3 separate regions of the Homo sapiens genome follow, and regions 2 and 3 are each linked to region 1. The links are contacts of gene promoters, found by promoter capture Hi-C in human tissues and cell types (Jung and others, 2019). All regions are on one chromosome and are shown on one strand. The core of a region is centred on a gene start or on the middle of the fragment in contact, and the rest is flanking DNA. Distances in the headings are between cores, read along the strand shown.

Region 1 (4,786 bases), core at 1,272-3,771:
AGGTAAGCTGATATCCTGGGGTTTCTCATCAAGCCAAACACGGAGCACCAGGTCGCTAAACAGCAGCTACAGCTTCCGTCAGCTCTTCCCCTACTCTCATCAACCTCAAAGTCTGTCTTTCCCCAGCTATTTGCAATTCTCTGAAAGGACATGAGCCCGGGAAGGGAGAACTGGCTCCCAAGCGCTTTCCTACAGGAGCTCAGCGCAGTTGCCAAATTCCTTTTCCTCCCCTCCTCCGCAACTTTTCTCTAAGTACCGGAGAAGGGCTTGCTGCCTACTCCGAGGCAGCGGCAGTGCCAGCGGTGCCTGGCACACGAACAGTGGAACCTGCAGGCGAGATCTGACCCCCGGCTCTGCCCCCGCCCTCCGCGGCCACCTGCCCGATCTCTGAAGAGTGTGGAAGCCCGGGGCTCTCTTGGGAGAGAAGCTTCTCTACCTGGGAGAAACAAATCAAACATTTATCCTGTTCCGCAAAGGTACCCAGGGAGCAGCCTCAGCGGCACCCGCAGAGGAGTCTGAGCAAGGGCACCAAGATCTGGCCAAGAGATAACGACGTCCAGGGACCAGGTGCCCTTCGGCTCCCGCCGACCTGTTGCTCGAAACTTGCCCTGAGCTCTCGCTGCCGGGCTCTGGGCTCCCAAGCCTCTCCCCCGCCGCCGCAGCAGCCTCTTTTAGGGGCCCGGAAGAAATGGGAGCCGGGGCTGGTGAGAGGGGTAGGAAGAGGGACGGTAGAAGTTTCAGACCCAGGCATATTTGGGAAGGCGAGTGCTTTACATGATTCCCCATTTCCCAATCGGACCAGCTTAGCCTGGGCAGGCAGCCTCGTGCTGAGGTGCCTGGAGACCGCCCACCCCCTAGGTGCTCGCTTCCCCCCGGGTCTGACCTGATCGAAGTAAATGATGCGCGTCTTGTTGCTCATCTCGGATGGCTCGTGGTTGGTGCTCCGCACCGCCGAGAAGGCGACCTTGGAGTTGGCCGCCCGGACCGATATCCCCAGCGGGGAGGAAGAGGAGCCCTTGGAGTCCGTGGCCGGGTTCGAGTCGCACACCACCAGACACTTGCCCTCCAGCACGATGGGCTCCGTGTCGTTCTGTGCCCAGACGGGCAGCCCCGGCAGCGTGAGGACCAGCAGCACGGCCGGCACCGCGGACAGCGCCCGGCGCCCGGAGCCCATGGTGAGCCGTGTGGGCAGCCGCAGCCGGCTGGCGCTGGTGCTCGCCCGCGTCGCCTCCTACCCCGGGATCCCGGTGCTCGGGAAGATGCTAGCGGCTAGGTCGACAGCGCTGCAGGAGCGACGGCGGCGGCGGCGCGCACACTTCCACCAATTCTGTGGCTTGAAGTCAAAGTCTCCCCTCGAGCTCTCTCGCTGGCTCTGTTACCTTTGTCCTTTAAGGAGCTCATGCAGCACCCTTTACCCTACTCTCCTCCGCCCAAGAATCAGCCCTGCCTGGGGCCCCTGCACCCACTCTGGTTCCTAGACATCTGAAAGTCATCAAACCCTCACATTCACACCTCAAGGCAAAAAATAATAATAATAATAAATTCTCACCCCAAACTCAAGCACCACCAGCTAAACCACGGAGCAGGAACAAAAAGAGGGGACTCAAAGAGAAGCCACAAGGGTGGCGGGTGCCCAGCGGCGCGGGTGCCAGTCCTGTCTGGCTTGCGGCAGGGACGAGTTACAGAGGCAGAAGGTCCTTCCCAGGCTGAGAAGAACGCGAGGCTGTGTTCATGGCCAGGACGCCAGCGACTCCCACTTTCGCCTGGTCAAAAAAATCCCCCAAACCTGGTGTCACCCAGAGGTAGGGAGGGAGGCAGCGGCTAGCCAGGTCCCTCGCACCGAAAGCGCGGATTCGCAGGATCAGGTCCAGGGCGCCGGGCGCAGCGTTCAGGGCGGCTGGTCCGGCGGGGTCCTCTCCTGCCTGGCCGCCCGCCCCCAGTCCCTGCGCACAACTTTCTCGTCCCTCGTGCAGCCCGGAGAGCGCGAAGCGGGCACACGCGCTCTATTTATAGGAGCGCAGCGTCCGGCTGGGTTGGCTTATCGCGCAACCCGCGGGCTCCGAGAAAAGGGGGAGAAGGCGTCTGGTGACCCCATCTGAGCAGCTCTCTCCTGACGTTTAACGCACCCCAAAGCAAGCGGGGCGCACAGCACTGGTGATTGGCAAGGTTCGAGGCCCCTCAGCCCCTGAAAGCCCGTGGCGTAAAGGATGCGTGCCCAGAGAGGAGCCCACGGCCCTGCGCTGGCCCCAGCTCCGCGCCCACTCTCTCCTGCTCGATCTGAGTCCGCAGAGGAGGCGGCTGGTCCCCTCACCCCTCCCAGCGCGGAACTCTGCCGCCGAGTGCCCTCCAAGCGGAGCGCGGCGCTGCCAGGCCGGGTCGCGAAAAAGGATAAGCCGCCGCGGACCCGCGCTGCGCGCTGCCCCGAACCTGGGGACCGGCGGGCGTCCCGACCGCGCCTGGCCGGGAGCCCGCCCCACACAGCCCTGGGGCCTGGCGAGCTCAGGGAAGCCTTGGGGCGGACCAGAGCCCGTGGGGGCGGCTGGGAGGAGGTGCCTGATTCCTTCCTTCCGCTCCGGGAAGATGAGCCTCAGAAGCCGCAGGGGCGCGCCTTCCCCCCACACCGCGAATCCTCCCCAGGCATGGCCAAAAAAAAGAGTGGGAGAGGGAGTTAACTCAGCAAGAATAAGTCCTCCGAAACCGTGCCAACAACAATAAAAAAATAAAAATAAAAATAAAAATAAAAGACAATCCCACTCCTAGGAATACAGCATTTTTCTCCCCTTTGGATGCGCTTTCCGCCCCCGTGCCACTCCACTGCTATCTTGGCCTCTGATTTGCAAGAGTTCCCTTCCTCTTCTGCAGCTACCACGGGGAAGGGAGGTTTGTCTCTGTCTGGACCCGGCTGCGTGAACTTGGCCGAGTCACTAACCCTCTCTGAGAGGGGGGCGCGGCGTTAACTAAGGTCCTCCCCACCCCCATCCCGCCAGCTTTCCAATTCTGTGATGCTGTGGGGTCATGGCGCCCCTTCCCCAATTTCTTCTACACTTCCAGCTGCCAGAGGGCAGACACGTATGGTATCTTTAACCAAAACAGTATCCCCTCCAGGCATTCGGAGCTCCTAAAATGGCATTGGCTAGTTATGAATGGAAGGGATGTTTATTGAGGGAGGTCCTTGGGATGGACGGCTCCCATTCCTTCCTGAGTGAAGGACGCCCTCATGAGCGTGGCATTCGAGCCCTCCACAAAACAAGGTGAACCTCGTCTCCAGCCTTTTTCCCTTCCTTCAGAAGGGCCGGGCATTGAGCTATAAGCACCAGCTCCAACTGTTAAAATTGAAGACACTACGAGGAATCCCCTAACCCTCACCTCCCTATAATCTCTCAACTAAAGTGTTAATACTTGGTGCCACAGGGGCCTTCAGATTCTGCTCCAGTGGGGCCAGTATCAGGTGTTTTGACTTTATGATTTTATTTTACTTGTGGTGGGGGGTGGTCTCGCTATATTGCCCAGGCTAGATGCAAAACTACTGGGCTCAAGCGATTCTACTACCTCAGCCTCCCCAGTAGCTGAGACTACAGGCCGGTGTCAGTTCCGGCTGGCAGGTGCTAGTACCATGCTATTTGTTAAAATGTTGAAAGTTACCTATCTAAGCTACAACCAAACAAGGTGAACTAGTGCCTTCTGAAGATGGCCACCATTTACCCAGCTTTGATGCCCCACCCTAAGCCCAGCACAATCTTCACCTGATCCCTCTCTGCACTTTGTAACTCTCTTCCAGATTTTAGGGATGTCTGCCTGGTTAACAGCAGCAATTTCTTCTCATTTGATGCAGTCTTTTGAGGGTGGGTGCTGAGTTGAATTTAGTTCCTTTTATTTCCTGTAGGGGTAAGCACCCTGCCTTCCTTGTCTGGGACAGCTGTTCAATAACTAGAACTTTGGTTGTTCAATTTCAGGCTGGGAGAAGTTTGACAAAAAAAAAAAAAAAAAAAAAAAAAAAACTGTGTTGAATTGTTAAATAGAAAATAAGCTATCTTCCTCACCAATTCCAATATATTCTCTCTACCTCCTTTTCTTCTCCAGGCACTTCCTGCACGCAAGAACTGAGATTTGAAGAAACCTATTCTTTCTCTCACCAAAAATATTCATTTTTAGTCCCAAAATCTGCATAGTGACCATAGTAAAGACTCAATAATTGAGAAATGACTGAATGCTTCCTAATAGAAGGTAATTATCACTCATATTATAGTATAAACTGCTTTAAATGAGTCTCTCTCAGTAAAATTTAAATTCAAAGCCTCCTTAATAATTGGGGATAAGGGTCTCGGTTCCTTACTAAAGGATGTTCTGCTCTTCAAAGTGTTCTGAAGATAAGGAACACAGCATTTTCTGTGGACCCCCGCTAAGAGAAGTTATCTTATATTGTGAATCAGAGGGTCCTGACTCTTTTTCCCACAACAGTTGATTAAACACGGATAGCCCCTGGGTTCTAGGACCATCAATGCATTTGATACCAGAAGTCCAAGATTTGTATGGTCCAACTTGGCCAGATGACTTGGGGCTGCCAGATTTTCTCTCTGCAATCTTAATGAGACATCAAAATAGCTTCCAGTAAGCACTACATGTGGCAGAGACAAGGTTTGTAGTCTCCCAAACTGACGTGGCCATGTAGGAGTCATCTGCAAGCTGAAGCAGAAGAGGTATTGGAATAAACCAGAGGACTGGCCACACTTGTAGAAAGAAGCCAATTCTGGAGCATGAGCACTTCTAAGAAGTACAGGGAGTGAAT
Region 2 (4,786 bases), core at 1,515-4,014, 45 kb after region 1:
ATTACTCCCTAACCTCAGGATAAAACATAAATATGTGCCAACTCTTCTTGATTCAATAACCACCTTGAGTAGGGGTCAGCAAATTTGTTCTGAAGGCCAGATGGCAAATATTTTAGGCTTTGTGAGATATGATCTCTATCACAACTACTCAACTCTGCCAGCGAAATGCCAGAGCCCCATAAACAAATAAACCAGGGGCTGTGTTCTAATAAAACTTTATTTATGAAAACAGGGAGCGAGCACTATTTAGCCCGACTGGCCATAATCTACTGACCTCTGACCTAGAACGCAGTGTTGAGATGGATTCTGAGGTTTTGTCTGAGCTCAGTAGGAGAGACTGTCAAGATCAATTGGTGATGCCTGCTAAATGGGAGGAAAGGAAGTGTCACAGCACTTAACCCTTTTGCCATTTAGGAAAAAAAAAAAGTGCAGCTCGCTGCTGGCACTCATTTAATTTTACATAAACACACTCTTTGAGGCTGAAGCAAATCCTACTGATTTTCAATGTGAAAATAAAATATAAAAACCATTCTTGGAGTTATTTCTAAACAGAACTGACATCAGGATCATCTGAATCATTAGAATCATCTATTTCAGAAAAATCTAATTCATCAAATGAATCTTCGGTCAACAACTGTTCAAGAACAATGTTAACATCACTCATAGCAATGCTACGTTTTCAGCCGGGCACGTTGGCTCATGCCTGTAATCCCAGCACTTTGGGAGACCAAGGCAGATGGATCACGAGGTCAGGAGATGGAGACCATCCTGGCTAACATGGTGAAACCCCGTCTCTACTACAATAGAAAAAAAAATTAGCCAGGCATGGTGGCTCAAGCCTATAGTCCCAGCTACTTGGGAGGCTGAGGCAGGGGAATCGCTTGGACCCGAGGGGCAGAGATTGCAGTGAGCTGAGATCATGCCACTGCACTCCAGCCTGGCAACAGAGAGAGACCCAATCTCAAAACAAAAAAAAAAAAAAAAAAAAAAAAAAGAAATGCTACGTTTTCTAGGATTTGACATTTTCAGCTATCAAGAATTACTATATTTTGTAAATGGAAATACTACTACTAAAAATAGAATGCTGTAAATAGAATGGTCTCTTTTGTTTCCAAAGTGAATATATAGAGCAATGTGAAAATAATAATAAAAGCGAGATATTTCATGGCAAAGTTATCTCGGGGTAAATGCTGCAGCTGTAAGCACCACCAGTGAGTATTCTTGGGGCAAATGGGAAAACGGTTAAACTGAATATCTGATATTGCTGCAAACCAACAATTTGTTATTTTATCCACATGCCCCAAAATGTCCCATGTCAGGAATTGTGAACTGGCTGCCTAGAGTGGAAGGGGTAGTGTGGATTTTCTTTTGAGGTTAACTAATTGCCCTAGATAGGGATCAAGTTTATGACCTTGGGCCTCATTAGCATCAGCCTTAACCAGCTGCAATATCTCGCTACAGATCAGGCTGTGGGAAGAGCAAGAAAACATAATGTCTTTGTTCTTTTGAAACAGTAGCAACTCACACTGAGAAAATGATCATTAGGAGAACGAAGAGTTAGTGTCTGTCTTAATTTAATCTCTTGTCGTTAGATATCCTTAGCTCTTCTACTTCAGGGACTGTAGACTAATGGAACTTATATTAAACATTCTACACCATCAATAAGCAGAGGCTGCTGCTATCTCCTTTACAAGGTAGATAATACACCACTTAGTAAGAAAACTGGAAATTATTCCCAAACTATATAAGAATATGAGAGAGTGGCTGGCAAGATGACCGAATAGGAACAGCTCTGGTCTGCAGCTCCCAGCGAGATCAAAGCAGAAGGTGGGAGATTTCTGCATTTTCAACTGAGGTACCTGGTTCATCTCATTGGTACTGATTAGACAGTGGGTGCAGCCCACAAAGGGTGAGCCGAAGCAGGGTGTTGCCTCACCTGGGAAGCACAAGGGCTCGGGGAACTCCTTCCCCTAGCCAGGGAAAGCCGAGCGGCACTGTGCTGTGAGGAATGGTGCATTCCGGCCCAGATACTATGCTCTTCCCACGGTCTTTGCAACCAAAAACCAGGATATTCCCTTGGGTGCCTACAGGGCCCTGGGTTTCAAGCACAAAACTGGGCAGCTGTTTGGGCAGACGCTGAGCTAGTTGCAGGAGTGTTTTTTTTTTTTTTTTCATACCCCAATTGTGCCCGGAACACCAGTGAGATAGAACCATTTACTCCCCTGGAAAGGGGGCTGAAGCCAGTGAGCCAAGTGCTCTAGCTCAGCAGATCTCACCCCCATGGAGTCCAGCAAACTAAGATCCACTGGTTTGAAATTCTCACTGTCAGTACAGCAGTCTGAAGTCAACCTGGGACGCTCAAGCTTGGTGGGGATAGGGGTGTCTGCCATTACTAAGGCTTGAGTAGATGGTTTCCCCCTCACAGTGTAAACAAAGCCGCCAGCAAGTTAGAACTGAGCGGAGCACACTGCACAGAGCCCGCTGCAGCTTGGCAAACCCACTGTAGCCAGACTGCCTCTCTAGAGTCCTCCTATCTGGGCAGGGCATCTCTGAAAGAAAGGCAGCAGCCCCAGTCAGGGGCTTATAGATAAAATTCCCATCTCCCTGGGATAGAGCACCTGGGAGAAGCGGCAGCTGTGGATGCAGCTTCAGCAGACTTAAATGTTCCTGCCTGCCAGCTCCAGCACTGCTCTGAAGAGAGCAGTGGATCTCCCAGCACAGTGCCTGAGCTCTGCTAAGGGACAGACTGCCTCCTCAAGTGGGTCCCTGGCCCCCATGCCTCCTGACTGGGAGACACCTCCCAGCAGGGGTTGACAGACACCTCATACAGGAGAGCTCCAGCTGGCATCTGGTGGGTGCCCCTCTGGGACGAAGCTTCCAGAGGATGGAACAGGCAGCAAACTTTGCTGTTCTGCAGCTTCTGCTGGTGACACCCAGACAAAGAGATTCTGGAGGAGACCTCCAGCAAACTCCAGCAGACCTGCAGCACAGAGGCCTGACTCTTAGAAGGAAAACTAACAAAAAGGAATAGCTTCAACATCAACAAAAAGGACATCCACACAGAAACCCCATCCAAAGGTCACCAACATCAAAGATCAAAGGTAGATAAATACACAAAGATGAGGAAAAACCAGTGCAAAAAATTTGAAAATTCCAAAAACCAGAACGCTTCTTCCCCTCCGAAGGATTACAACTCCTCACAAGCAAGGGAACAAAACTGGATGGAGAATGAGTTTGACAAATTGTCAGAAGTAGGCTTCAGAAGTTGGGCAATAACAAACTCCTGCGAGCTAAAGGAGCATGTTCTAACCCAATGCAAGGAAGCTAGGAATGTTGAAAAGAGGTTAGACAAATTGCTAACTAGAATAACCAGTTTAGAGAAGAACATAAATAACCTGATGAAGCTGAAAAACACAGTACAAGAATTTAGTGAAGCATACACAAGTTTCAATATCCAAATCAATCAAGGGGAAGAAATGATATCAGAGACTGAAGATCAACTTAATAAAATAAAGTGTGAAGACAAGATTAGATATGGAACATATGGGACTATGTGAAAAGACCAAACCTACGTTTGATTGGTGTACCTGAAAGTGACGAGGAGAATGGAACCAAGTTGGAAAACACTCTTCAGGATATTATCCAGGAGAACTTCCCCAACCTAGCAAGACAGCCCAACATTCAAATTCAGGAAATACAGAGAATAGCACAAAGATACTCCTTGAAAAGAGCAATCCGAAGACACATAATTGTCAGATTCACCAAGGTTGAAATGAAGGAAAAAAATGTTAAGGGCAGCCAGAGGGAAAGGTTGAGTTACCCACAAAGGGAAGCCCATCAGACTGACAGTGGATCTCTCTGCAGAAACCCTACAAGCCGGAAGAGAAGGGGAGCCAATATTCAACCCTCTTAAGGAAAAGAATTTTCAACCCAGAATTTTACATCCAGCCAAACTAAGCTTCATAAGCAAAGAAGAAATAAAATCCTTTATAGACAAGCAAATGCTGAGAGATTTTGTCACCACCAGGCCTGCCTTACAAGAGCTCCTGAAGGAAGCACTAAATATGGAAAGGAAAAACTGGTGCCAGCCCCTGAAAAAACTTACCAAATTGTAAAGACCATTGACACTATGAAGAAACTGCATCAACTAATGGGCAAAATAACCAGCTAGCATCATAATGACAGGATCAAATTCACACATAACAATATTAACCTTAAATGTAAACAGGCTCAATGCCCCAGTTAAAAGACACACACTGGCAAATTAGATAAAGAGTCAAGACCCATCAGTGTGCTGCATTCAGGAGACCCATCTCACATGCAAAGACACACACAGGCTCAAAATAAAGGGATGGAAGAATACTTACCAAGCAAATGGAAAGCAAAGAAAAAAAAAAAAGCAGGTGTTGCAATCCTAGTCTCTGATAAAACAGACTTTAAACCAACAAAGATCAAAAGAGACAAAGAAGGCCATTACATAATGGTAAAGGGATCAATGCAATAAGATGAGCTAACTATCCTAAATATATATGTACCCAATACAAGAGCACCTAGATTCATAAAGCAAGCCCTTAGAGACCTACAAAGAGACTTAGACTCCCACACAACAATAGTGGGAGACTTTAACACCCCACTGTCAATATTAGACAGATCAACGAGGCAGAAAATTAACAAGGATATTCAGGAATTGAACTCAGCTCTGGACCAAGCGGACCTAATAGACATCTACAGAACTCTCCACCCCATTCTGTTGAATGTAAATCAACAGAATATACATTCTTCTCAG
Region 3 (4,786 bases), core at 920-3,419, 49 kb before region 1:
GAAAACATAAACAAGCAAAAAAATTAAATTACAAACATTATTAAAAGCTATAGGAAAAATAGCATGTGTGGATGACAGAAAGATGTGGGGGCATGGAGGGAGTTACCTACTTTAGATAGGAGAGGTCATACTGATTTTTGAAGTATTCAAAGGCATCCACCTTGAGAAGATGGGGAAAGGCTGTTCCAGGTATAGGGTCTTAGTCTGTTTTCTGTTGCTATAACACACTACCCAAGACTGGATAATTTATAAAGAAAAAAGTTTGTTTAGCTCACAGTTCTGGAGGCTGGGAAGTCCAAAATCAGGCAGCCACATCTGGTGAGGGCCTCGTGCTTCTAGATAGCATGGCAGAAAAGCAGAAGGGCAAGTCAGCATATGTGAAAGAGGTGGCAAAAGCAAGCCAAACTCACTTTTGTAACAACTCGCACTCAAGAAAACTCACTCATTCCCACAATAAGGGCATTAATTCATTCATGAAGGTTCTACCTTCATGACCCAATCACCTCTTAAAGGTCTCACTTCTTAATACGGTTACATTGGCAATTACATTTTCAACACATCAACTTTTGGGGAACACGTTCAAATCATATCACATAAGGAGGAGCAAAAGGGCTTAACAAGGAAAAATTGAGTCTGTTAAAGGAGCAAAAGTAAGTCCAGTGTGGCCAGAGGAATGCATGAAAAGGAGAGCTATAGGAAGGCTCTGCAGGAGCCAGGGCCTGGTGAGTCTAGCAGCTCATGAGAGAGAGTTTGCATTGCTTTGCTATGTGCAGTGGGACAGTGGGAAGCCACAGGAGGGTACTAAGCAAAGGTGTGGGGCAATCTCATCTTCTCATGATGCTACCCTTGACCCACTGTAGGACAGAGGTTCCCAAGCTTTTTCCATCTCCTTAGGTGTCAGTAATTTTGTCACAGAGCCCATAGGCCAAAAGAAATACCTAATAGTTCCATTTACTAAGTAACTAGGTCCAAACAAATTATTAAGTTTTTATGTTCTAAAAATCTTAACCATTTGAAAAAAAAATCACATAAACTGATTCTTTTTTTAAATAGAGACAAAGTCTTACTTGTTGCCCAGACTGGTCTGGAACTCCTGAGCTCAAGCAAAACTCCTGCCTCAGCTTCCCAAAGGCTGAGATTACAGGCATGAGCCACCACATTTGGTCATAAACTGAAATTTTTAAATAATAATTCTATTCTTGAATAACCACAATTGATTGCTAATGGGCTATATGTGCCTATTAATTTACATGGTGCCAACATTTAAAACATGGCCCCACTCCTGAGAGTTCACCGCAGGAGCCCTGAGCACCATAGTGCAGAGTTTGGGAACCGTGCCATAGAATCTATTGTCATTACAGATACACAGGACCTCAGAGAAGTCAATGAAGTCAATTGACTTCATAAAATATGAAGTTTTTAAGATCCTTCTAAGGGAAAGAACCTGAGCACAGTTCTTCAGGTTTTAACGTAGTAAATTATAACCAAAATTTGCCTTGAATCTCCCTGCCTTTCAACTAATATGTTAAAATGTAAATTGATTCCCTTAAATGTCCCACTGACATTTAATTCCAGAAGAAAATGACAGAGAATGACTATAAATAGTTCAGGCACCCCATATGCTCCTGTGCATGGACTGGATTGGCCATTTATTGATCCACTGTTTTGGGTTCTGTTAGTGTGGCCCCAGTTTCCCTGCTGGTGGGAAAATATAATAGTGTCAGTGATCAAGATTTTCAGTGCCCCATTTTAGACTTGCTTGATCTACCTTCTTTTTAAGCTCAGAAAAATAGTACTCTGTCATGTTAAATCAGTTACATTGATTTTGACTAGTGAGCCTTCACTGGTAGTAACTGACAGTACAAAAATGTCCAGGCAAATGTTATGCAAATCTCAGTCAAGTACCCTCTTCTAAAATAAATGGATAACTATATAAATTGTATAAGTCATACTAAGTATGAAGTTTTACATGCAAAATGACTCAAAAAACTTCAGGTGGAGAGAAATCATAAGAACCACTGTCTTTATGGTATTAATGGCCAAACACAGACTCTTCATTGCCCCTGAAAACCGGCATCTGTTTACAATGATTTTGAAATCCCAATGTTATGGAGGCATAAATGCTGGAGCTGAGAGTTAAACTAAGGTCTCTCTTTCTGTCTAGAGCCCTCATTCTCAACTACTCTACCAATACTCCTTCTCCTAGTTGTTTGTGAATATACTGGTTCCTGAAAAGATAGATTTGGATGAAAACATTAGACTCTATGGATGAGGGCAGAGGCAGGCACCAGTGCTGACTTCTCTTTAGTGCTAGGCTCTTGACTATGGATTTCTGTCCCATACAACTGGGTCTGACTTGAATTCCCTACTCGGCCATGAATTCAAGAACGGAAAACATTACAGACCCTCAGTACCCAATGACCAAGCTAGTGGAGCTAAGCTCTCCTGTCCTGGTATGATCCATGCCTTTCTTACATGGCTTCCAGAGGATTCCATAACCTCTATTCTAGGCTGAAAAATGGCAAGTACACTGGACTAGAAATAAAATCTGGATCCTAGTCTTGGTTCTGGAGCTTCCTAGCTGGGCAACTGAGACAAGAGGCTTGACCTGACCACAGCACCCTCACCTGTAAAAAGACTGATGATTTCTTCCATGGCTACCATACAGCATTGATGAAAGGCTTTAAGAAGGCATGTCATGGGGAAGTACACTGCTACACTGTAGAGTCTCAAGCAAGTACAAAATATTATTGGGGTTGTCCTTGGTGTTATTCCTATAAGAGGCAGTATGAAACAAGTTGTAAAGCACCAGCTGTGTTCTGCCCTGGATTCAAATTCTTATTCCACTACTTCCTATCTGTCTGGCTTTGAGAAAGGTACTGCTTGAAATTTTAGCTTCCTTACATGTAAAACAGGGACAATATTACCTACTTCTCACAGTTACGATGAGAATTGAGATACAATGGGATTTTGCTCACAGCAAGTGCTCAATAATTTGCCTAGAATAATATTATCACTCTATGTCTAAGCTTCCTCGTCCCACTAACACTTAGTTTCCTCATTTATCTGATGGGAATCATGAACAGCATGGAGGAATCATTTTGTGTTGGGCTTAAGTTCTAATCTAAATTCATTAGGTGAAAGCCAAATATGAACATAGTTATCCTTGAAAACTGCTTTATGTACCTATAAATGGTGACCATATGTCCCAATCTGACTGACACAGTCCAACTCTATGTCTTTCATCCATGCACAGTTATTGAAAGTATCCTCTTACTGTCAAAAGTGCCTCAGTTTGGATGAGAAACCATGTGGTCACCCACCTATGAAGAACCTCTCCCATCAAGTCCAGTGTAGATTTTCCCTCCCGTGCTGCAACAAGTTGCTGCTTCTTTGGTTGATTCCCAACTAAAGTAGCAGTTTACAAATAGAAACCATGCTGTATGGAATGTATAAATATTTAAGTCCTAAAATGATGCATAAAATGCTTGAAGATGATTAAATGCACTGAAAGATAAGCTTCCATTGCATGCTCATTCGAGATACAAATGCAGTAATTAGAATCGCTGGCAGTATCAGCTGCACAATTTAAATTTCTTTTTTCTCTCTTCCCCCCACCCCCACCCTTCTCCTCTTTCTCCTCTCTTCCCCACTCACCCCATACAGTGCTCACAGTTGAATACCAGAAAGTTAACCACGCATACAATGAGACCACACTGTACCTGTCTCCTAAGATTGTGAGATTATGCATGAAGAAGACTGTGTATAGTTTCTGGTGTGTAGTAAGCACTCTGGGATAATCTCTATTTCCATCATTATTATATATTCAAATTATTTTCTTGGCTTAACTAGGAATCAATTGCTCATCATAATTGGTACTTCTCTAGAGATATTGGTGTAGGTAATTTTTTTTCTAACAGGACTTCTTTCAGGTAAGGGCAAAGTAAAGACTGCATTCATAGTTGTGGCTACTCTCAGAAGACTTCAGATTTTAATTTACAAGGATGGGTTTGTGGTTATCTTGTTTTTGTTTTTCATTCCAGGCAAAATAAAAAACACCACCAAGGGCAAAGATATGGAAGAATGAGAGTCTGTGCATTTCAGGTAAGGGCATGTGAAGCAGGGAGAAGGATGGCTGCAGACAGGACCAAAAAAGAGAGACTGGAGCCACTTTGAAAATAATGTGAGATGCCAGGCTATCTACTTGGAATTACAACTGATGGGCACTTGGGAAACATGTGAGGTTTTTCTAGTAATGGAGTGACATAATTACAATGTTTGATAAATAAAGCAGCAGTAGAAGCTTAGAAGATGGAACTAGGAGATAAGATTAGAAGAAGGAAGCCTGGTGAGGTGCCTGCTGCCATCAACTGAGGGAAAGATGACGACTGCCCAAACCATATAGGAAGGGAGAGATGAATTCATGCATTTCTCTGTGCAAATAATGTTTGCTGGGGCTTCCATCCCTCCACCCTCACTTTGACCTACTTTACCATCTATTCTTGTATTGGAGGAAGAGATGACCAAATTTGATCAAAAGTGAATAGTGGAAAATCCTAAGCATCTTTTCTCTTATTATATGTATCAATGTGATAGTAATAGTTACCATGCATGGCAAACTCTATGTGCCAAGTGCTATTATAAGTACTTTATTTTTTAACTTAATCTTTATGACCCTATATATGTACTATTATCATTCCTGTTTTGCAGATGAGAAAACTGAAGCATGAGAGAGTAAGCAGCTGGCCAAGATTACATAGTGAGTAAGGAGAGCTGGATTCAACTG

The links. The method cuts DNA at HindIII sites, captures the fragments that hold promoters and counts their contacts. A contact is called where the count stands out against the background at its distance.
Region 2: a contact is called between a fragment that was not itself captured here and the fragment with the promoter of CBLN4 in region 1, in 8 of the 25 tissues and cell types used here (H1 embryonic stem cells, bladder, dorsolateral prefrontal cortex and 5 more).
Region 3: a contact is called between a fragment that was not itself captured here and the fragment with the promoter of CBLN4 in region 1, in 2 of the 25 tissues and cell types used here (dorsolateral prefrontal cortex and spleen).

What each region holds. Positions count from the first base shown.
Region 1 is chr20:56,002,998-56,007,783 of GRCh38, forward strand. CBLN4 (cerebellin 4 precursor) reads right to left here and starts at 2,522. Exons shown (of 3, transcript NM_080617.6): 1 at 884-2,522. The coding sequence starts at 1,174. The HindIII fragment of the contact is 15,736 bases long and covers 1-4,786 here.
Region 2 is chr20:56,047,808-56,052,593 of GRCh38, forward strand. No RefSeq gene overlaps it. Among named protein-coding and RNA genes, the nearest start is that of CBLN4, 45 kb to the left of the region's middle. The HindIII fragment of the contact is 4,295 bases long and covers 618-4,786 here.
Region 3 is chr20:55,953,942-55,958,727 of GRCh38, forward strand. No RefSeq gene overlaps it. Among named protein-coding and RNA genes, the nearest start is that of CBLN4, 49 kb to the right of the region's middle. The HindIII fragment of the contact is 3,484 bases long and covers 428-3,911 here.